Regions from separate parts of the Homo sapiens genome. Here all the other regions are linked to region 4. Evidence: promoter capture Hi-C in 16 types of primary human blood cells and fetal thymus (Javierre and others, 2016). All regions are on one chromosome and are shown on one strand. The core of a region is centred on a gene start or on the middle of the fragment in contact, and the rest is flanking DNA. Distances in the headings are between cores, read along the strand shown. Region 1 holds the start of LINC03008 (long intergenic non-protein coding RNA 3008). Region 2 holds the start of ZC3HC1 (zinc finger C3HC-type containing 1). Region 3 overlaps KLHDC10 (kelch domain containing 10). Region 4 holds the start of MESTIT1 (MEST intronic transcript 1, antisense RNA). Region 5 holds the start of LOC105375509 (a long non-coding RNA gene). Region 6 overlaps TMEM209 (transmembrane protein 209). Region 7 overlaps KLHDC10 (kelch domain containing 10).

Region 1 (2,735 bases), core at 77-2,576, 350 kb before region 4:
CAAAGCCAACCCAGCCAATCTGCTCACCCTACACTGGCCTTGCAGCCTCAAATGCAAAAGCAAGAGGCTTCTCAGATTCTCCAGCAGACAGCTCAGCAGGGGAGCTCAGCAGCCCATGCAGGAAGGTAGGTGCCAAACACCACTCAGGGAGGTCAGGAGCCACCACAGCCCAGCTCCAGGACTTGGGAAGAGAAGGCAGAGACAGCTGGGAGCTCTGGCCACTTACTATTTGGGGGCCCCACAGCAGGCCAGGAGCTTTAGAGTATTGCAGATGACATCCATGAAAAGAGAAAGCAGCTGCCATGCAGCCTGTGTCACCTTAGAGGAGTCAGACTGGTCAGTTTATCCTCCTTGAACCTGCCACTTAGAACCGCAAGGTTCTGGGAGTGGAGGAGGCTCTCACCATGACTGCCTAGGATGTGTTCAAAATCCCCACCCCACTGTCAGGGAGCAAACTTTGTTACTCTCCCAGCCCCAGAAAAATACATCCAGGCCATCCAGGCATCTCCTGCACCTGGGTTATTTACTACCCAAACCTCACCCTGAAACAGCTAAGATCAGGTCATGGTTCGGGATGTCGGCCTCTGCCTGGGCTCACCCTGCACTGCACAGGCTTGCTGCCCACAAAGACGCGGTTTATAAGAACAATAGGCACAGGGGTGTCTCAGAGCTACTTGCATACTAGGGCATCCAGGACGAGAACTCCAGCTTTACACTGGATCTAACCCCGGACCCCAAACACACACACTAACCCAGAGCCCAGCCTCTGCAGCCCCTGCCATGTCAGCCAAGCATTTTCAGTTCATTTTCTCCTCGGCAAGCCTGTATTGAATCGCAGGCCTAGAAGTTTTATCCCCGTTTCACAGATTGGCAGGCCAAGACAAGACAAATTCAGTGATTTGCCAAGGGCCAGAGAAGGGAGTCCAAGTCTGCAAGCTTGCAAGGTCGCGTTCATGAGAACTTTCATCCTCCTGGGACCCGGCGGCAGGCACATGGGCCTGGATAGTTACTGAGAAAATTCTTTCAGAAGGGCTTTCGGGGACGTGAAGTCACCCCTGGCTTCCCGGGATTCTGGGTTGGGAGCAGCCGCGCAGGGGCGGTGAAGCCAGGGGCCAGGGCGGTCCGTGCTGCGGGCGGCTCCCCAAGGCCCGGTGCGCTGGGCTACCCGCCCGCTGGCCATGGACTTGCCGCCTGCAGCGCACATGGCTGGGGAGGAAGAGCCGTGGATTTCAGTCTGTACACCCAGACGACTAAGAAGCTGCCGCCCGCTAGCGGGGAGGGGACTCGGCCGGGAGGTGGCCCCCGCAGCCCGGCGCCGCCGCGCGTCCCATCCTCGAGGCCACCGTCGCTCACCGAACATCTGGCACGTGCCATTGGTGCTGGGGTGCTGCGTGAGCGGGCCCTGCCTTCGGGAAGTTTCCATTGGGGAGGAGGCGATCGATCAGACCACAGCAAACGAGCAAGATGACCACAGTGGCCCATGGAGGGGGAATAGGAGCTGTGTGGCGTAGAAACAAGGAAAGCCTCCCGCCCGGTGTGCACGGGGAGCTAGAAAGTGTGACCAGAGTGTTCGGGGCAGGGACAAAACCCAGCTTCTGGTGTCTTCTGCAAGGGGAAGAAGCCTTGCGGTGGGAGCCAGGGGAATCCCCGCGAAGAGGCGGCCCCGCACCTATCCCGGGGCTGGGACGAAGGGTTTGGCTTCTCTAAACGCAGCGGGAAGCTTTAAGCCAGAGCCACACAGAGCATCCCTGTCGCAGGAGAGTGCCCGGGGGTCCCAGGAGGGCGAAAGCACCTTTGGGGCCGAGACACTTCTGCTCCCATCACCCCCGCCCCAGCAGGGCGCCCCTGTGCGGGGAACAGCCAGCAATCAGGGACAGCGCCCCAGGCCCCGCTGCGCCAGCACTGGCAGGAGGGACGCATGGAGGCCGGACGGAACTGGGGAGGGGGTGCTGGCCAGGGTGGGCTCAGGCCCTCCCCACTAAGGCCAGCTCGGCCCAGGGCCTCCCTGCGCAGCCCAGCGCGCCTTGTCGGAGAGGCTCCTAGGACCGGAGGGGAAGCCGCTCTGAACCGGAATGATCTGGTTTGGAGCGGGTTGGCTCCCTCCCTGCTCCCCCGCCCACTGCTCTCCCTCTCCTCCAGCGACGGGCTGGTTTTTGCCGCAGTCCCTGACCAAGGTAAACAGGAGGGAAGAGGAAAGAAGGCTGTTTCCATGGCAACCCAGGGGATAGGCGCTGTGGCTCTCCGGGATATGCGGGGGTGACTTCAGGGAGAAGAAAAGGCTCCCCGGAAAAGCCACAGGGAGGAAGGACCCTCCCATGCACACGGTGGGGTGCGTTCAGAAGTGGGGGGATGGAGGGAAAAGGAGAGGGGTCAGGCACCCTCGGTGAAGTGGAGAATTGAGCAGGGGCCTGGGGACACAGAGACACATAAGGGCCAGGGGTCATACCGAAAATGCAAGCACACAGGCTCTTCTGGCCACTCAACCCAGGGAGCAGAAAACAGAGGTGCCAGAGCTCTCAGAGATTCCGAAATCCACACCTCTCTGGTCCTTTCCAGAAAACCCTTCCAGGGGGCAGCTCAGCCTGGGGACAACCACAGAAGTGGGACCTGGGCCCAAAGACAGGTGTCACCTGAAACAGGCCACTGTTGTCCGCCTGCAGTATGCTGGGAGGACCAGCTCCCGCTCCACCCTGCTCCCCCTGGGAGGAAGGCTGACCCCTGCGTGGGAGTGTGAC
Region 2 (3,015 bases), core at 257-2,756, 440 kb before region 4:
AGGAAAATCTAGAAAGAGACATTATAGTAGTGTAGTCTCTAATAATCTAAAAAACATTAGATTATAATCCTGGATCTGCCATTTGCTAACAGGTTCATCTTGGGCAAGTCATATAACCTGCCCCAAACTGTTTCCTCTTCTGTAAAACAAGTATAATAATAATGCTTATTTTCATAGGTTTAAGGTCAAGATCGAATGTGATAATATATACAAAAACATACTATATACAAGTATTAGTTATTATTTCTTCTTTTCTCAGGCTCTTAGTTTTTTCTTCTGTAAAAAGAAAAGGTTAGATAACCTCAACTGTCCCTCTGAGTGATAACATATTAGGATGCTGACTTTCCTATATAATTTCTTACCAAGGTTTTATTCTTAAGTTTAAAGCATCACAGTAAGTGGTGTAATACCTTGGAGGAATTCTAGAAGCAGGCAGAAAGTGCAATTCACATGAACTAAAAAAGGATATAGAAAATGTTTCCACTCTGCTAAAGAAGGCTTCTTTGCTTGTAGATTCCAATGAAGGTTGTTCCGCTTGGGGTGATCCATTAACTGACTGGGATGTGGCAGACGTGTCCTTCCTAATATAAAGTGGCAAAACTGTTGGTAAACCTTTCACAGTACCCTCTGCTTAAATGTTATCTAGCTTCTCTACACATCGTATCATAAATCACACCAACGCTGGATTTTAAGCTTCCTAAAAATCATTTTACTCATGTCATTCCTCAGCTTATTATTTTCAATGGTTTTATAATACTTACTAAATAAAATCCAAATTTTTCAGTCTGGCATTCAAAACTCTTTACAGTTTACCCATATCTAAACTTCAATTTCTACCTCTACAGGGCTCCACTAATCCTAGCAAACTATTCTCCTCACTCACTCACTGTTCTCCACAAGTATTTGGCATAACTTTAGTAGACAGAAAATAAGACTCAAGACTTCAAGTATGCATTATACAATTTGAATCTCTTCAGAAATTCGACTTTTTTTTTTTTTGAGATGGAGTCTCGCTCTGTTGCCCAGGCTGGAGTGCAACGGTGCGATCTCGGCTCACTGCAACCTCCACCTCCCAGGTTCAAGCAATTCTCCTGCCTCGGCCTCCCCAGTAGCTGGGATTACAGGCGCGTACCACCAGGCGTGGGCCCGGCTAATTTTTTGTATCTTTAGGACAGACGGGGTTTCACCATGTTGGTCAGGCTGGTCTGTAACTCCTGACTTTGTGATTGGCCCACCTCAGCCTCCCAAAGTGCTGGGATTACAGGCGTGAGCCACAGCGCCTGGCAGAAATTCGACTCTTAACAGCAGAAAAAACAATTTTGATATTTCTACCTGGAGGGACCTTTCATACCCACTCCTTCCAAAAAAAAAAGAACCAATTAGAAAATTCGAATCAAAGATCTTCGGGAGATTTCATGAAAAAAAAATCAGGGAGAAAAAAACTCAGCAAAGCAATTCTCTCATTTTCAGTGGAAGGCATTTCAACAGTGCCTGGGGAATTGCTGAAAGACAAGCATTTATTTATTTATTTAGAGACGGAGTCTCACTCTGTCACTCAGGCTGGAGTGCAGTGACGCGATCTCGGCTCACTGCAACCTCCGCCTCCCAGGTTCAACCAATTCTCCTGCCTCAGCCTCCCGAGTAGCTGGGACTACAGGCGCGGGCCACCACGCCCGGCTAATTTTTTGTATTTTTAGTAGAGATGGGGTTTCACCGTGTTAGCCAGGATGGTCTTGATCTCCTGACCTCGTGATCTGCCCGCTTCAGCCTCCTCAAAGTGCTGGGATTATAGGCGTGAGCCACCGCGCCCGGCGACAGGCATTATTTTAATAAAAATAGGATTACATCAACGATTATAGCTCAAAAGAAATAAACTTACTCTAAGACTCTCAGAGATTCATAGAGAGCCTCAAGCGGGTGTGGTTCTAGGCCAAAAAAAATTCACAGCATCCATAAACTTGGATGGGTAAAAATGACATTTATTTCTCTCTAAATGACAAGATTTAGCATTTTCTTCAATTATGAATGAAGGTAAAAACACCATAGTAGTATTAGCAGTACCTGCTAATTTGTCACCAATGGAAATAATGTTCCCACATTATGGTGGTTGCATGTCTTCAAATACCTTTGTGCTCATCACTACTTCAAAATTATGGTTGACAACACATACTACTAGATATTATGGACTCTTTAATAAAAAGCATTGTTACTGCGTAACTTTTTCCTTTTACCATCTTGATAACTACATTCCAATCTAACTGGTTTCCTTTATAATCCTATGTAATTTACTTTAAGCATTTAAAAATATTCTGAGAGTTAATAAGCTTCTCCAGAGAGCCAAAGGGGTCCACGGCACAAAAAAAGGTTAAGAATCCCCAATTAAGAGAAGTCAAGTGAACTCATTCAGTTAACGGTCCTCTTTACTTCCAAAAATAATGTCCGATGACAAAATTTCGGCTGCGGTTGGGAATCTGGTACACCCCGAGGGGAAGATCAAAGCCGATCAAACATAGTAACCAGAGTTTCTTTCAGATTCTAAGAAGCCATCCCCACTGCCCGAGTCGCCGACCGAGGGGAACCTCCCCCAACCCGCCACCCCTTCCCCAAGCCTTCTTCAATCTTCCAACGCCGGACCCAGGGTTAACTCGTGAACTCACGCGTCCACGCCTCCCTCTTCCGGGGCAATCCCCTCATCTATCAGCTGCCGGATTTTCTGGGGGGTCCCTTCTGGGGAGCGAACTACTGCACCCCAATTCTTTTCAACCCCTACGGCAAACGCTTGTCCCTCACAGGGCGCCGCCATCTTGGTCCGCTGCCGAGTTGCTTCCCCGAGAGTTTGAAGGCTCCGGAACTTCCGTCCTGGGAGGTTAATATCCGCCTCTTGAGGCAGCCTGGCTGGGAAAGTCTAACCGCGGGGCCCACGCCTTTTCTCATCATTTTAGAACCTTAGAGCGAGCTTAAGGAGGGCTGTACTGTTTAGGACAATCTTGATTAATCGTTTCCTTTATCAACTAG
Region 3 (2,959 bases), core at 99-2,598, 390 kb before region 4:
AGGAGGAAGAGGAAAAGGAGGAGTTGGGCTTGCTGTCTCAGGAGTGGCAGAGGCAGAGGAAAATCTGCATATAAATAGACTTGTGCAGTTCAAATTCATTTTGTTCAAGGGTCAACTGTATAACATTCTGTAACTAAAATTAAATTGAGAGTTGTACTAAAGGTCCTAGAATTTTTTGTTTTAAAATTTACAGGTGTAGTATTATCTACTTACTAAAAGAAAAATTCAAATAATACAGAAATACATAGGGGGAAAAGTCAGGATCCTTACTGCAAGCATATATAACATTTCTACAAATCAATTTCAAAAAAGACAGTTCAATGAGAGAATGTATGTAAGAGGCTTAAGCAGGTGTTCTTAATCTGTTCTTGCACTGGTATAAATAAATACCTGAGACTGGGTACTTTATAAAGAAGAGGTTTAATTGACTCACGGTTCTGCAGGCTGTATAGGAAGCATGGTAGCATCTGCTTCTGGAGAGGCCTCAGAAAGCTTTTACTCATGGCAAGAGGCAGAGTGGGAGCAGGTGTCTTACATGGCAGGAGCAGGACCAAGAGGAGTTGAGGGGAGGTGCTATGCACTTTTAAACAACCAGATCTTGTGAGAACTCATCACTATACAGTACCAAGGAGGTATGGTGCTAAAGCATTCATGAGAACTTCGTCCCCGTGATCCAGTCACCTCCCACCATGCCCCATCTCCAACACTGGGGATTACAATTGAACATGAGATTTGGGCGGGGACACAGATCCAAACCATATCAGCAGGCATTTCCCAAAAGAAAAATTCAAATGGCCAATAAACATGAAAAGGCGCTCACCCTCATTGCAATGAGAGAAATGAATAGTAAAACCACGAGAGCTCTACAAACTCACAGGAATTGCTACATTAAAAAGACTGACAGTGGCAATACCAAGTATTGGCAAGGATATGGAACAACAGGAATTCTCACATGCTGCCCTTGGATATGTAAAGTGGTACAACCATTTTGAAAACATTTTGGCTTTACCAAACGAAGGTGAAGATTTACATACATTAAGATTCAGAAATTCCATGTTTACATTTATAGCCAACAGAAATGTGAGCCCCTGTGCACTTGCAACATGTGCAAAAATGTTTGTAGCAACATTAAGAACCACAAATTTGAAACAACCCAAAATGCCTCTTCACGCAACTTAGACTGGATAAATAAATTGTGACATATATTCATACAAATAAATAATATTTGGCAAGGGAAATGAACAGACCACTTCTTTTCCCCTAGAACAGGGATGAATCTCAAAAACATAATTGTGAATAAAAGAGCCCAGAAAGAAAATATACTATATTATTCTACATATATTATTCTATTCAAATACACTTTAAAACTAGGCCAAAATAAACAGTATTGTTTAGAGATGCATACCTAGGTATAATAAAGCTATAAAAAGACAACAGATTTTTATGATTGCCCTAAAAATCAGGAAGTAGGATACTCTAGAAGTGAAGGGAGGTTGGAGGGTGTGATCAAGATGGGCAGTCAAAGGGTTTCTGGGTGCTGGCTGTATTCTGTTTCTTGACCTGGGTGATGGTTATATGTTCCTATTTTAATAATTTATTAAGCACTTTATGCAGTATTGTGTTTCTTGAGCTGGATGGTGGTTACGTGTTCTCTTTTTAATAATTTGTACATTTAAGGCCGGGCGCGGTGGCTCACGCCTGTAATCCCAGCACTTTGGGAAGCCAAGGTGGGTGGATCACCTGAGTTCAGGAGTTTGAGAGTAGCCTGACCAACATGGTGAAATCCTACCTCTACTAAAAATACAAAATTAGCTGGGCATGGTGGTGCATGCCTGTAATCCTGGCTACTCGGGAGACTGAGACAGGAGAATCGCTTGAACCTGGGAGGCGGAGGCAGTGAGCCAAGATCACGCCGTTGCACTCCAGCCTGGGCAACAAGAGCAAAACTCCGTCTCAAAATAAATAAATAAAATAAATAATAATCTGTACATTTATATTTATGTAAATTCTAATGCATGCCATATTTAACAATAAAAGGAGTTAAATTTAAAAAGCAAAGATCCTGCCTCACATCTTCACTCAACCACCATTAACAGGCGAGTCTTTCCAGATGTGGTTCTTTCTGAAGAGTGTTAAAAAATAAAAGTTTGTTTTTCAGCAAGTGTTAGGGGTAATAAGATACAGATCTTTGTAGGGGAAAAAAGAAAGCTTATTTCAATAAAATCAGAAAAGTGGGAAAATAAAGCGAGAAAGAGCGGTAAATAAAAAATACATAAGATTGCAGGGACAAATCTAAATAAGAAATCAAGATCAAATGGACCTTATCTGTGGAATGTATTTAGTTTACTATTTTAATAGGCTTAAAGAAAAATTGTGACTTTGCTGTATTAAATAAAACATTTAATAAAATTTGATATTTAATGTGTTCATTTTGTTACAATGCATCCAGTACCCTTATGACATATATGCTTTTCTGTATGTTACATTTGAATACAAACTTTGTGTTGGGCGCACAGTGGCTCATGCCTGTAATCCCAGCGCTTTGGGAGGCTGAGGTGGGAGGATCTCTTGAGCCCAAGAGTTGGAGACCAGCCTGGGCAACACTCTGTCTCTAAGAAAAAATTCAAAAATTAGCCGGGCGTGGTGGCACACACCTGTGGTCCCAGCTACTTGGGAGGCTGAGATGAGAGGATTGCTTGAACCTGGGAGGTCAAGGCTGCAGTGAGCAGTGATTACACTGCTACGTTCCAGCCTGGGCAATAGAGCAAGACCCTGTCTCAAAAATAAATAAACAAATAAACCCCACATCCATTCCTGGTAAGGGAAAACATTCTTACGCATCCAGGGATAAAAGAAGATTTATTTTATGACAGAATACTATAAGAAACCAGTAGTAAATATCATATATGATGTATCATTTATTGATAAGAAACCAATAGCAAACATAATACATAACGGC
Region 4 (2,751 bases), core at 64-2,563:
TTCCATGCCCATCTCAACCTCAATCCCTCCTTCAAGGAAGTTTTTCCTAACTCCTCGGCCAGACATCAATAATGTCTGAAGGGAGGATTTCTCCCGAGTGCCAGACTTGGAATTCCTGTTGTCTTCAGGAGCTCTCCCTGGCGCTCCCTCCTTCCCCCAGGGCCTTTAAACTGTTTCTCCTCCAGTCTGCCCACTTGATCCATGTGGGTAGACATGTTCCATGGCCTTCAGAATAAGATCTTTTGTGGGGTACTCAGTCCATAAACAGAAAATTGCCTTCATCTTGGATGCTGGTGTTTCTGGCCTGGTGAGAATGAAAGTGTGGAATTTGTTTGTAGGACTCAAAGTTTCCATTAACAATAAATATGAAAAATATATAATGCAAAGGCTTTTGTTATTGTTATTATTAAAATAGGAAAGCCTTTACCTTTTTGGAAGAACCGATTTAGATTTTGCAGAGTAATTCAGTCTTTAAAAGGTAGTGGTAGTTAAAATAGGTAATCTTTGACTTGTAAAGAGACTAATTTAAATTTTGTTAAGTAACCAATTAAGGCCATAAAGAGTTTAAATCCATCTGTGGCTTCTCATTTTCTCTAGAACAAATTCCTAATTCCCTACGATGAAATTCTCTTGCTATCCTAATTTTTTGCCGGCTCAAAGGACTAACCGTTTTCCCCAAACACGCGGCCCTGAGCCTCCGGTGCTTTGCGAAAGCCGTCCCCTCCGGCTGGAATGTTCTTTGTCTCTCTGGTAAATGTCTATTCATCATTCAAGACCACCCTTCGCCCCTCCCCTTAATTACTTCCTCCCCTGTGCGCCCTCAAATTCTTGTACTCATTCAAGCAGTATTTATTAGGGGCCAGCTTTGTGGCCGGCACCGTGGCGGGCTCTGGGGCTACAAAAGGTGAATAATACTTGGGCTCTGCCTCTGAGGGCCTTACACGTTAGGGAGGAGTGGGTCAACTGCCACAAACGTCGCTAGGAAATTAAAAGGAAAATTTTACAAAGTGGCAGTTCTTGTCTGTCTTCCCCTCCAGATGGCCCGTGTGTTGTTTTCGGGCCGGGGCTATTTCTCATTTATTTCGCACCCCCGGTTCTTAGTGCCCTGTAGGTGCTAAATCAGCATTTGTTTCATGAGTGCTTTTTCTGGGGGCAACCAGACCCCTGCAGAAGTGTACCTGTGTTGTGCCAGAGGTTCTGATGATAGGCTTATAGGCGGTAGTTTCCTCAGTGTCCGTGGGTCGCCCCCGGTCCCGGGTTGGATGCCCCGCGGTCCAGCACCGAACCTTTCGGGGTGCAGAGTTGCAGAGCCGCGGAGGGCCCGGGCCGTGCGCAGCCGAAGGGAGGCCTGCAGCGCCCCCTCTGGATGCAGCGGGCACCGGCCGGCCGCCCCGCTCACCCGCTCGCACCCCACGTTTGTTCACCAGTATTTCAGTTTACGGTCAGAAAATGAACACAGACACTTCGTGATACTCTACACTTTTCAAAGGCGTAAGGGATGCCTTTTAAAGGATTATGGATTAGAAAAATTCCTCCCTCTTTCTTGTGCCTCTGGGCCCTTGCATTGTGATTCTATCTTACGTAAATAAAGGGGGCTTTGCTCTCCTAATTGTGCCCACTGTTCTGTGCAGCGCGGACCGGCGCATGCAGCGAGCGGGGCTGCGAGGGCGCTGCTGTGGCCAGGCGTCTGGCATGCTGACCACGTCGCGCTGCTGTAAAGGAAACCTGCCCCGCGCAGCGGCGGTGGCTGGAGCGGGAGAAACCGGACTTTGTGCAACTTTGGCCATAGTGGCCATCCCATGAATCTGTTTACTAGCTTGGTGGTGGGTCCAACAGAGCTTGTTGCTCCCTAGCCGCTTGCTCGTGCCCTTGGTGGTTACCGGTAGTTAAGCTTAGGGCGCATAGGGCCCTCGTGGCTCGCCACCTCTCACGGTTCAGTACCCACGCTTCGAACGAGGGATGGGAGCAGGCGCCACGGCCGGCACCCCAGAGCCCTGCTGCCCCTTAGTTCGAGCGGCCATCCTCCTGTGGGGCTTGTGGGCAGCCTGTGGGGTTTGTGGGCGGCCTGTGGGGTTTGTGGGTGGTCTAAGGAAAGAGTTGGGGCACTCAGGGGTCTGCTGTTTTTGCCCGTGGCCTTAACTCATCAGGGGAGGGTTTCTGCAGCAGAATCTCGGGCTCAGGGTTGGCGGTTAACGAGGGAGCAGCGGGGTCTTGGGGAGGGGGCTCGACACCCCTGAAGGTGCCCCCTAAAGGAGCCACTGTTAGAGGGGCACCCCATCTTTGTGGCCATGGCGGTGGTAGAGCGGCTGGGAGGGGCTCTGCGGCGAGCAAGGGAGCAGGCGGTAGGGGTTCTGCGGCGATGGGCGGGCTAGGGGCGGGGCGCGGGTGGGCTCTAAAAGTCGGTGCCCACTCGCTCCGCGCTGCCGCGGCAACCAGCACACCCCGGCACCTCCTCTGCGGCAGCTGCGCCTCGCAAGCGCAGTGCCGCAGCGCACGCCGGAGTGGCTGTAGCTGCCCGGCGCGGCGCCGCCCTGCGCGGGCTGTGGGCTGCGGGCTGCGCCCCCGCTGCTGGCCAGCTCTGCACGGCTGCGGGCTCTGCGGCGCCCGGTGCTCTGCAACGCTGCGGCGGGCGGCATGGGATAACGCGGCCATGGTGCGCCGAGATCGCCTCCGCAGGTGAGTGTGCGGTGGGAACGAGGGGGTGTGGCTGGCGGCCCTGGGACTAGGGCGCAGGCGAGCGGAGGACTGTGT
Region 5 (2,823 bases), core at 224-2,723, 340 kb after region 4:
GTCCAGGTTTCCCCAAAGGACATTAGTCATATTGGATTAGGGACCACTCTAGCCCAGTATGGTCTCGTCTCAACTAACTATATCTGCATGACCTTATTTCCAAGTAAGGTCACATCCTGAGGTGCTGCAGGTTGGGACTTCAGCATATGAATGTTGGGGGGACACCATTCAACACGTAACTGCCTCCATCTTTATATCCATCATGGTTGCCTCAAACCCTGTCTTTTGATTCCTTAAGCTTCTAAGGCTGTGGGTTTCTACCCAAGATTTAGTAAACTCTCTGAGGAGAACTGTGGGCTGCCTGCGCTCAGGCTAAAAGCCATTAACATGGAAAGTTTACACAGTGCTATTCTTATCTTCTGCCAAGTGCCAATCCTCTCTCCCTTTCTGCTTCCTTTTGGTTGTTCTCCAGGGCCATCAAGTAGTTCGTTTTTATATTTGGAATGGAATGATGGTCATTATTTGCAAGAGAATTGGCCCAAAGCAGCTCTTCCACTATTACTGCAAGACTCTCATTTTATTTCTTCCTGGGGTTTTGTTTGCTGTTTTTTTTTTGTTTTGTTTTGTCTGTTCCTGTTCTGGGTTTTTTAATGTATCATTCTAGGTGTTTCTTTCAGATCTGCAAATGGTAAAAAATGTTACATTCAGGTTGGTAGCGTCCATCAGTTTCTTCTTCATTTTGTGAAAGGGAATTTTTATTAGTTGAGGTGTTTGATTTTTATTTTACATTCCCTTTATACAGAGACTTCATTTGGATGTTGTCTACCCTTTCCCATTCATCTGGAAATGTCCCATCTTTTTCCTGGACCAGCAATATCTGGCAAGGGTAAAGATTTTAGTTGGCAGACTATATTTCACAGTTCAAGGGCACCCTCTGCTGTTGACTTAAGAGAATTGCAGTTTCATTAATGTTACAGTTTTGGTGGGGTATTTTTTTTTTTAATTTTGTTCTAGTGGAACTTTTAATTTTCAAAAATATATTTATCTTCCTCAGATGTGAATCATGTTTTTTGTTTCTTGATCTCTGCGGTTTTTTCAAGTACGCGTATTCATTTTGTGAAAATTCAATGAGCTCTACACTTTATATGTGCGTATTATATTTCAATAAAAAGCTAAAAATAAACTTGTCAGTAATTAATGCCTAATGAATGAAACACAGAATTATATTTGATAAAATTATCTTCTACCCTCCGACTTTGTTATGCCCTACCTGTTATTTTTGTACATTTGTTACTCTAAAAATTATATTTTGTACACATGCCCAAAAGGTATGTTTTGTAAGTACACTTAAAGGTATCTTAAAATTACTTGTTTTTGAATCATTTGATACTTACCACCAGTCTTTTCAAAGTGTTTTTATCATTCATGAATTCTTTATCTTGATTCTTCTTACAGGTAGCTGAAATACAACATCATAATTTTTACTGGAAAATAGCCACAATGAAGGAACACCACAATTTCACCATGAAAACCAGCACAACCTTACACAGATGACAAACATTTCCCCTCAAAACTTGTTAAACTGTATTTGGGCTGACCAAATTAACCAGAGTTATTCTATTTATGGGGGAGCAGGAAGTAACTTGATAAAATGCTTTGAGTTTATATATCATGTCAAATAAATAGCATAATTTTAAAGGAAAAAAACTTGTTAGGCAATGTTCTCTTATTTTCTGACATCACATATTGTGACAGAATGTAAGGCCAACCTGGTTTTTACAAATTCCGTGGTCTAATTTTTTTGTTGTTGTTAGTGTATAAAAATAGCATTGACTTAAAATTTTTTAAATTTCTTTTATTTAGTTAATTAATTTATTTTGAGACAGAGTCTCGCTCTGTCACCCAGGCTGGAGTACAGTGGCACAATCTCGACGGACTGCAATCTCCGCTTCCTGGATTCAAGCGATTCTCCTTCCTCAGCCTCCCGAGTAGCTGGGACTATAGGCGTGTGCTACCACGCCTGGCTAATTTTTGTATTTTTAGTAGAGAGGGGATTTCACCATTTTGGTCAGGCTGGTCTCAAACTCCTGACCACAGGTGATCTGGCTGCCTCATCCTCCCAAAGTGCTGGGATTACAGGCCTGAGCCACCGCACTCAGCTGAGTTTTTTTTTAATGAATGTACTCCTGGTTGTTTTTTTGTTGTTGTTGAGACAGAGTCTCGCTTTGTCGCCCAGGCTGGAGTGCAGTGGCGCGATCTCGGCTCACTGCAAGCTCCGCCTCCCAGGTTTACGCCATTCTCCTGCCTCAGCCTCCTGAGTAGCTGGGACTACAGGTGCCCGCCACCACGCCCAGCTCATTTTTTGTATTTTTAGTAGAGACGGGGTTTCACCGTGTTAACCAGGGTGGTCTCGATCTCCTGACCTCGTGATCCGCCCGCCTTGGCCTCCCAAAGTGCTGAGATTACAGGCATGAGCCACTGCGCCCAGCTCCTGGTTGTTTTTTTACTCTTCTCTTGACATACTTCTCACACACTGCAGTCTGTTGCATAAAAGGAATTACATGGTTTTGAATTACAGATAAAGATGGACATTGTCTATGTGGTAAATACGTGGTAGTTTCTGGGTGTCTTTTTATATGCTTCATATGAAAAATGATCGTACGTAAAACTGTCTCTTTCAGAAGGAACATAATCTGGACCATTCAGATACACCGAAATTCAGCTGTTTTCTACATCATCTGTGTGGGTGTAGCTAAAATATGAGCTTTTAAGCTTAAAAACAACTTCTGCATGTTATTTGGAAATATTTTTTACTGAATTTCTCAACCACCCCAAAACTTAAAGGGCAAATTTAAAATATGCATTTAATGCCTTAGTATTTTA
Region 6 (2,941 bases), core at 106-2,605, 320 kb before region 4:
GGCTCAGAGATGTTTAGTTTCGACTTCTGGTTCAGTGAAATAGTCTAAATGTCAGAATTAAATATATGACTTGCTACTCGCCAAAGATCCACAATATATTCACACCAGATAGACCAAGATTAACTCTCCTATAAAGAGAAAAAAAATTTTTATTAGAATTGGTTGCCAAGCATTTAAGGTCTTTTTCTAATAACAAAAAACTTTATGAATAATACATGTTTAACTGATATTTAATGTGATTCTGCAATGAATTATGTTATACATGGTTTATCAGGTGAATTCCAGTAACAGTAATTACTTTCTTAACTATGCCTAAAACCCAAATTTAGAATAAATAGATTTATGGAGTGTTGACAGTTTTTCAGTAAACAAGAACTATTACACCAGGTAATAGCTAACAGAATAATTTTAACAAGCAAGATTAAAGTAAAAGTATCAATTGTATTTAAAAGATGGAAGATATGGAGATGCTAGCCTCTCAGAGAACTGTATTACTTGATTTGAATTAGGAATTTACTAACTACTGGGGATACTTTAGTGAGTTTTCATATGTGTATTAGTAATACATTAAATCCTACTACATATAACAACAACAACAAAATACATATACTTCTCTTCCAGAGAGTAGTATGACTGTATTCAAAGTCTGAGGGAATAAGAGGGCTATAAGAGAAAGAAATTACTCACCTAACAAAATAAAAAAATCAACAGATAATATCTGAAACTGAAGAATCAAGAGAGCTGTATACCTCTATTATTTGGAACTATGAGAGTAATAACTGAAGAAAAAGCCACTTGGGGAATACAGTCCACTTCGAGAAGCAGACTTGGGGAATACAGGGAATTGCTCATTTCTGTCATGAACTTTTAGCCCTCTATGACTTTTAAAATTATAAGAATGTATTAACTTTGATAAAAAGCTGCCAAAAATGCCTTTCGAAACAGGTAATTTTTATCAACTGTATTTTCCATTTCTTCATACCCTCACTGACACTACAAATAATATCAAATTTGACAGAAAAAAAAGTTAATTTTGACTTGTTTGTACATGAGTCTAAGCATCTTTTTGTGTTTAGGAGCTGTTTGCACACTTTATGAAGAAATCTTTCATACCTTTGTCCATTTTTCTAATAAAATCATATATGTTCTTTATATATAACAAATATAAGCTTGGATTTGCTATATTTGCAAACCCAATTACTACTGCTCATATTATAGCAGAATAATGCTTTCAGTTTGTCATTAACTTTAAACTTTACAGTGTCTTTTCCCAAACAGAACATGTAAGTCACTGTGCAGTCAAGTCTGTCTAGATTTTTTTTCCTTTTGCAAGTAGAACATTCATCTGATTCCTGTTACTGCACAAATACCTGACATTAAATTGATAATGTATTTGGATCAATCTGTGGGTTTATGGTCATAAATCCAAATGGACTATATTTGAGCCACTCACTTATTTCTTTTAAGTTATAGGAAAGTTTTTAACTATTTGTTTTAGGATGTATTTGAAAAAATATTCATGTTCGAAAGGTTAATAATTTCCAAGCTTTTCCCCGAGTTTAAAAACACTAGTTTTAGTCTAAAATGCTTAATTTCCCATATATAAGTTGCTCATTAAGAGAATATAGCGCTTTAAAAATTGTATCAATTTCTTTTGGCCTTTCAGTAAATTTCATTACATTTCAGTAAATGAAAAAGTGCTGCTCCACTAAGCACTTTTTCATTTTAAAGCATATGACAGACCGTATATGGCACTCAAACCTCATGCTATCATGACAAACCATTTATGCATCAAAATATCAATTTGGATCCACAGAGGAAAAGATACATTTTCAATTAGAACCAAAAATTAATTGCTTATTTATATTATACAGGTTAAGCACCTATAATCTGAAAATCCGAAATGCTCCAAAACCCAAAACTTTTTGAGTGACATCATGATGCTCAAAGGAAATGCTCACTGTAGCATTTGGGGGATTTTTAGATTAGGGATGCTCAGTAATTATTGCAAATATTCCAAAATCGGAGAAAATCAAATCCGAAACACTCCTGGTTCCAAGCATTTCAGATAAAGAATACTTGACCTGTATTAACAACATGGAATAATAACAATATGGAATTTATATCAAATTCCATATTCCATCTAATATATATGTGTAAGTATATTTATAACCAAACATTCCTAGACATTTTAGGGAAAATTTGACATGGGAGAATGTCCAAGATATGCCATAAGCCTAAAAATTAGATCATAAAGTACTATGTTTGGATACAATACATTTTTAAGCAAAAGAAACAAAAATAAAGCCAGGTGGAGTGGCTTATGCCTGTAATCCCAGCACGTTAGAAGGCCAAGGCAGGTAGATCACAGCCTGGGCAATATAGTGAGATACTGTCTCTACACATAATTAGAAATTAGTTCTAGTTTATACACTGCTGTGTTATTTAAATACTTATCTACTGAGTATGCATTATTTTCATAATTTAAAAATAAAAAACCCTGTTAGTTTAGATGCCTCAATAAAGTTAGTTTCCTAATCTTTCTTACATTAAAAAATATATGATAAAAGAAGCTAATAGCTGGGTGTGGTGGCTCACACCTGTAATTACAGCACTTTGGGAGGCCGGGCAGGCGGATCACCTGAGATCAGGAGTTTGAGACCAGCCTGGCCAACATGGAGAAACCCCGTCTCTACCAAAAATACCCGGCATGGTGGCGGGCATCTGTAGTTCCAGCTACTTGGGAGGCAGAGGTTGCAGTGAGCTGAGATGGTGCCACTGTACTCCGGCCTAGGTGACAGAGCGAGACTCCATCTCAAAAAAAAAAAAAAAAAAAGCTAATAAATGTTCATATTTGTTTACACATTTTTGTTCATGTCTGTTTTAATCTTTACATCCGATATATTTAAGGAGCTTTGCTTTCTCTAGAGCAGTGCTGTCC
Region 7 (3,062 bases), core at 182-2,681, 410 kb before region 4:
TTCAGGGGGGACGGGAGGGACTTTGTGGAGATGGTAGCATTCCTTTGTTTGGATGGGTATTTAAGATGTTTACAATCTTGCTAATACAAATAGTGATACAATGAATAGCCCTATACATATATAACTTTTGCACATGAGAGAGTCTTTCTTTAGGATAAATTTGTAGAAGTACAGTTTCTGGGTCAAAGGATTTATGTTTACTGCTTAAATTTTGATAGATTCTGTCAAATTTCAAGTTTATGTTTCCCTGTTGTTGTTCGAGTGCTGTCTTCCTTGTTCTTTTGGTAACGGAGTGGGTTATCAAACGTTATTTAAATTGTCAGTTTAATAGGAATAGTTTTCTTAAGTGTCTTTCCAATAGGTAGATAAAAGAGCCATTTATTTGTTTCCTTTATCTATAGATCTGTTTATATTTTTTGTTCATTTTTCTATTGGGATGGTTCATATTGTTTATAAAGGCGGTACCCAACCTTTTTGGCACCAGGGACCAGTTTCGTGGAAGACAATTTTTCCATGGACCGGGATGGTGGGGTGGAGGAGTGGGGGGAATGGTTTCAGGATGAAACTGTTCCACCTCAGGTCATCAGGCACTAGAGACTCAAAAGGAGTGCACAGCCTAGATCCCTTGCATGCACAGTTCACCGTAGAGTTAGCACTCCTATGAGAATCTAATGCTTGATCTGACAGGAGGCCAAGCTCTGGCGGGAATGCTCACTCGCCCACCACTCACCTCCTGCTATGTGGCCAGGTTCCTAACAGGCCATGGACCGGTACCAGGGGTCCATGGCCTGGGGCTTGCGGACCCCTGGTTTATAGGAACTCTGTATTTTAATGAAATCAGTTCTTAGCCATTGACACGTTGCAGATATTTTTCACAGTTTTTCATTTGCGTTTTGACTTTGTTTATGGTCTATTTTTTCATCAGAAATTAAATGTTTTAAATGTTTTGTTGTGAAATTTATCAGTCTTTTCAGAGTCTAGGTTTTGTGTCATAAGAAAGGCCTTTCCTATTTTATTATTATTTCTAATTCAAATTAAATATTCTTGTGTTTTCTCCAGGTACTTCTGTAATTTTATTTTTAAGTTAAATGCACTTACCCACACAAAATGTAAGTTAAATAAAGTGTCGAGGTGGGAATCCAACTATACTTTTCTTCCAGATGGCTGCCCAGTTATGGCAGTGTCCTTCATTTAGTTCAGCTTTGCCCTGCTGATTGAAATGTTGTCTATAGGTGTACTTAGTTCCTACAGTTTGAGGTTATTACTGGACTTTTATTCTGTTTCATTGATCAGATTACCTATTTATACCTAATGACTCTATTCCTTGGTTATCATCTTCCCTCATTCTACTTCCCAGAGTTTTCCTGGGAAGTTTTCTTTGTTTATTTTTCTATATGGCTTAGAATTAGCTAACCAAGTCCTGCTCCTCTGTCCTGTTGGCATTTTTATTGGTATTGTATTATATTTATAGATTAATTTAGAGATAATTGACATCGTTTTGAGGTTCAAAAACAGGGTCTATATTCATTTCTTTATGTTCAAGAACAGTATATGTGGCCAGGCATGGGGGCTCACGCCTTTAATCCCAACACTTTGGGATGCTGAGGCAGGCGGATCACTTGAGGCCAGGAGCTTGAGACCAGTCTGACCAACATGGGGAAACCCCATCTCTGCTAAAAATATAAAACTTAGCCGTTCTTGGTGGCAGGTGCCTGTAATCCCAGCTACTCGGGAGGCTGAGGCAGGAGAATTGTTGAACCTGGGAGGCAGAGGTTGCAGTGAGCCAAGATTGTGCCACTGCACTCCAGCCTGGGTGACTGAACAAGACTCTGTCTCAAAAAAAAAAAAAAAAAAAAAAAAAAAAACAGTATATGTATTTATTGTCATTCAAGTATTGTTTTGTATCTATCAACATTAAAAAGTTGTTTATTTTTTTATATAGGCCTCACATTTCTTATTATGTTTATTCCTTGGTGTTTATCTTGTTTGTTGCTATTGTAAATGGGGTTTCTACTACTTTCTTTTTTCTTTTTCTTTCTTTTTTTTTTTTTTTTTTGAGACGGAGTCTTGCTCTGTCGCCCAGGCTGGAGTGCAGTGGCACCATCTTGGCTCACTGCAAGCTCCGCCTCCCGGGTTCACGCCATTCTCCTGCCTCAGCCTCCCAAGTAGCTGGGACTACAGGCACCTGCTACCACGCCCAGCTAATTTTTTGTAGTTTTAGTAGAGATGGGGTTTCACCATGTTAGCCAGGATGGTCTCGATCTCCTGACCTCGTGATCCACCGGCCTCGGCCTCCCAAAGTGCTGAGATTACAGACGAGAGCCACCGCGCCCGGCCGGGGTTTCTACTTTCTTTTATAACTTTTATGTGGTTGTTTGAATATGAGAATGCTATTAAATTTTGAGTATTAATTTTATACCTAGCCACGTTAAGAATTCTAATATTATCTATAATAGTTTCCCAGTTGTTTTTCTAGAGAATAACAGGTATAGCTAAATAATCATATCATTACTGAATAATGATAATTTTATCTTCTCCTTTTCATTTTTTTTTCTTTTTTTTTAAATAGGCCTGGCGTGTTGGCTCATGCCTGTAATCCCAGCACTTTAGGAGGCTGAGGCGGGCGGATCACTTGAGGGCAGGAGTTTGAGACCAGCTTGGCCAATATGGTGAAACCCCGTCTCTACTGAAAACACACACAAAAAAATTAGCCGGATGTGGTAGTGCATGCCTATAGTCCCAGCTGCTCAGGAGGCTGAGGCAGGAGAATCGCTTGAACCCTGGAGGCGGAGGTTGCAGTCAGCAAAGATTGCGCTATTGCACTTCAGCCTGGGTGACAGAGCAAGACTCCGTCTCCAAAAATAAAAAATAAATAAAAATAAAATAAAATAGAGATGGAGTCTTGCTATGTTGCCCAGGCTGATCTCAAACTCCTGGGCTCAAGTGATCATTCTGTCTTGGCCTCCCGGGATTACAGGTATAAGCCTCCGCGCCCTGCCTTCCTTTTCACTCTTTTTTTGAGACAGAGTCTCGCTCTGTCACCCAGGCTGGAGTGCAATGCC

What was found. The method cuts DNA at HindIII sites, captures the fragments that hold promoters and counts their contacts. A CHiCAGO score of 5 or more calls a contact.
Region 1: a fragment that was not itself captured here is called in contact with the fragment with the promoter of MESTIT1 in region 4 in 1 of 17 cell types (megakaryocytes); the score reaches 5.1 in megakaryocytes.
Region 2: a contact is called between a fragment that was not itself captured here and the fragment with the promoter of MESTIT1 in region 4, in 1 of 17 cell types (megakaryocytes). The highest score is 5.5, in megakaryocytes.
Region 3: a fragment that was not itself captured here is called in contact with the fragment with the promoter of MESTIT1 in region 4 in 1 of 17 cell types (megakaryocytes); the score reaches 5.0 in megakaryocytes.
Region 5: a contact is called between a fragment that was not itself captured here and the fragment with the promoter of MESTIT1 in region 4, in 2 of 17 cell types (endothelial precursors and total B cells). The highest score is 5.6, in endothelial precursors.
Region 6: a fragment that was not itself captured here is called in contact with the fragment with the promoter of MESTIT1 in region 4 in 1 of 17 cell types (megakaryocytes); the score reaches 7.3 in megakaryocytes.
Region 7: a fragment that was not itself captured here is called in contact with the fragment with the promoter of MESTIT1 in region 4 in 4 of 17 cell types (megakaryocytes, erythroblasts, fetal thymus and 1 more); the score reaches 10.2 in megakaryocytes.

The regions. Positions count from the first base shown.
Region 1 is chr7:130,139,599-130,142,333 of GRCh38, forward strand. LINC03008 (long intergenic non-protein coding RNA 3008) reads left to right here and starts at 2,133. Exons shown (of 2, transcript NR_149034.1): 1 at 2,133-2,174; 2 at 2,661-2,735. RefSeq lists enhancers at 1,367-2,030, 1,443-1,522, 1,703-1,842, 2,031-2,694. The HindIII fragment of the contact is 784 bases long and covers 935-1,718 here.
Region 2 is chr7:130,048,564-130,051,578 of GRCh38, forward strand. ZC3HC1 (zinc finger C3HC-type containing 1) reads right to left here and starts at 2,811. Exons shown (of 10, transcript NM_016478.5): 1 at 2,658-2,811; 2 at 470-581. The coding sequence starts at 2,803. RefSeq lists enhancers at 2,145-2,937, 2,565-2,874, 2,935-3,015. The HindIII fragment of the contact is 1,631 bases long and covers 692-2,322 here.
Region 3 is chr7:130,104,192-130,107,150 of GRCh38, forward strand. All of the region lies in intron 2 of KLHDC10 (kelch domain containing 10), which reads left to right. Among named protein-coding and RNA genes, the nearest start is that of KLHDC10, 35 kb to the left of the region's middle. The HindIII fragment of the contact is 1,716 bases long and covers 491-2,206 here.
Region 4 is chr7:130,489,664-130,492,414 of GRCh38, forward strand. MESTIT1 (MEST intronic transcript 1, antisense RNA) reads right to left here and starts at 1,314. Exons shown (of 2, transcript NR_004382.2): 1 at 1,179-1,314; 2 at 1-304. It overlaps MEST (mesoderm specific transcript), which reads left to right and starts at 2,422. Exons shown (of 12, transcript NM_002402.4): 1 at 2,422-2,676. The coding sequence starts at 2,651. RefSeq lists a silencer at 1,250-1,459. The HindIII fragment of the contact is 7,997 bases long and covers 1-1,889 here.
Region 5 is chr7:130,831,187-130,834,009 of GRCh38, forward strand. The region is part of intron 3 of LOC105375508 (a long non-coding RNA gene); the gene reads left to right. It overlaps LOC105375509 (a long non-coding RNA gene), which reads right to left and starts at 1,552. Exons shown (of 3, transcript XR_007060528.1): 1 at 1,482-1,552; 2 at 1,335-1,399. The HindIII fragment of the contact is 2,474 bases long and covers 237-2,710 here.
Region 6 is chr7:130,166,378-130,169,318 of GRCh38, forward strand. It overlaps TMEM209 (transmembrane protein 209), which reads right to left. Exons shown (of 15, transcript NM_032842.4): 15 at 1-128. The coding sequence ends at 74. Among named protein-coding and RNA genes, the nearest start is that of LINC03008, 26 kb to the left of the region's middle. The HindIII fragment of the contact is 377 bases long and covers 1,168-1,544 here.
Region 7 is chr7:130,075,518-130,078,579 of GRCh38, forward strand. All of the region lies in intron 1 of KLHDC10 (kelch domain containing 10), which reads left to right. Among named protein-coding and RNA genes, the nearest start is that of KLHDC10, 6.5 kb to the left of the region's middle. The HindIII fragment of the contact is 5,502 bases long and covers 1-3,062 here.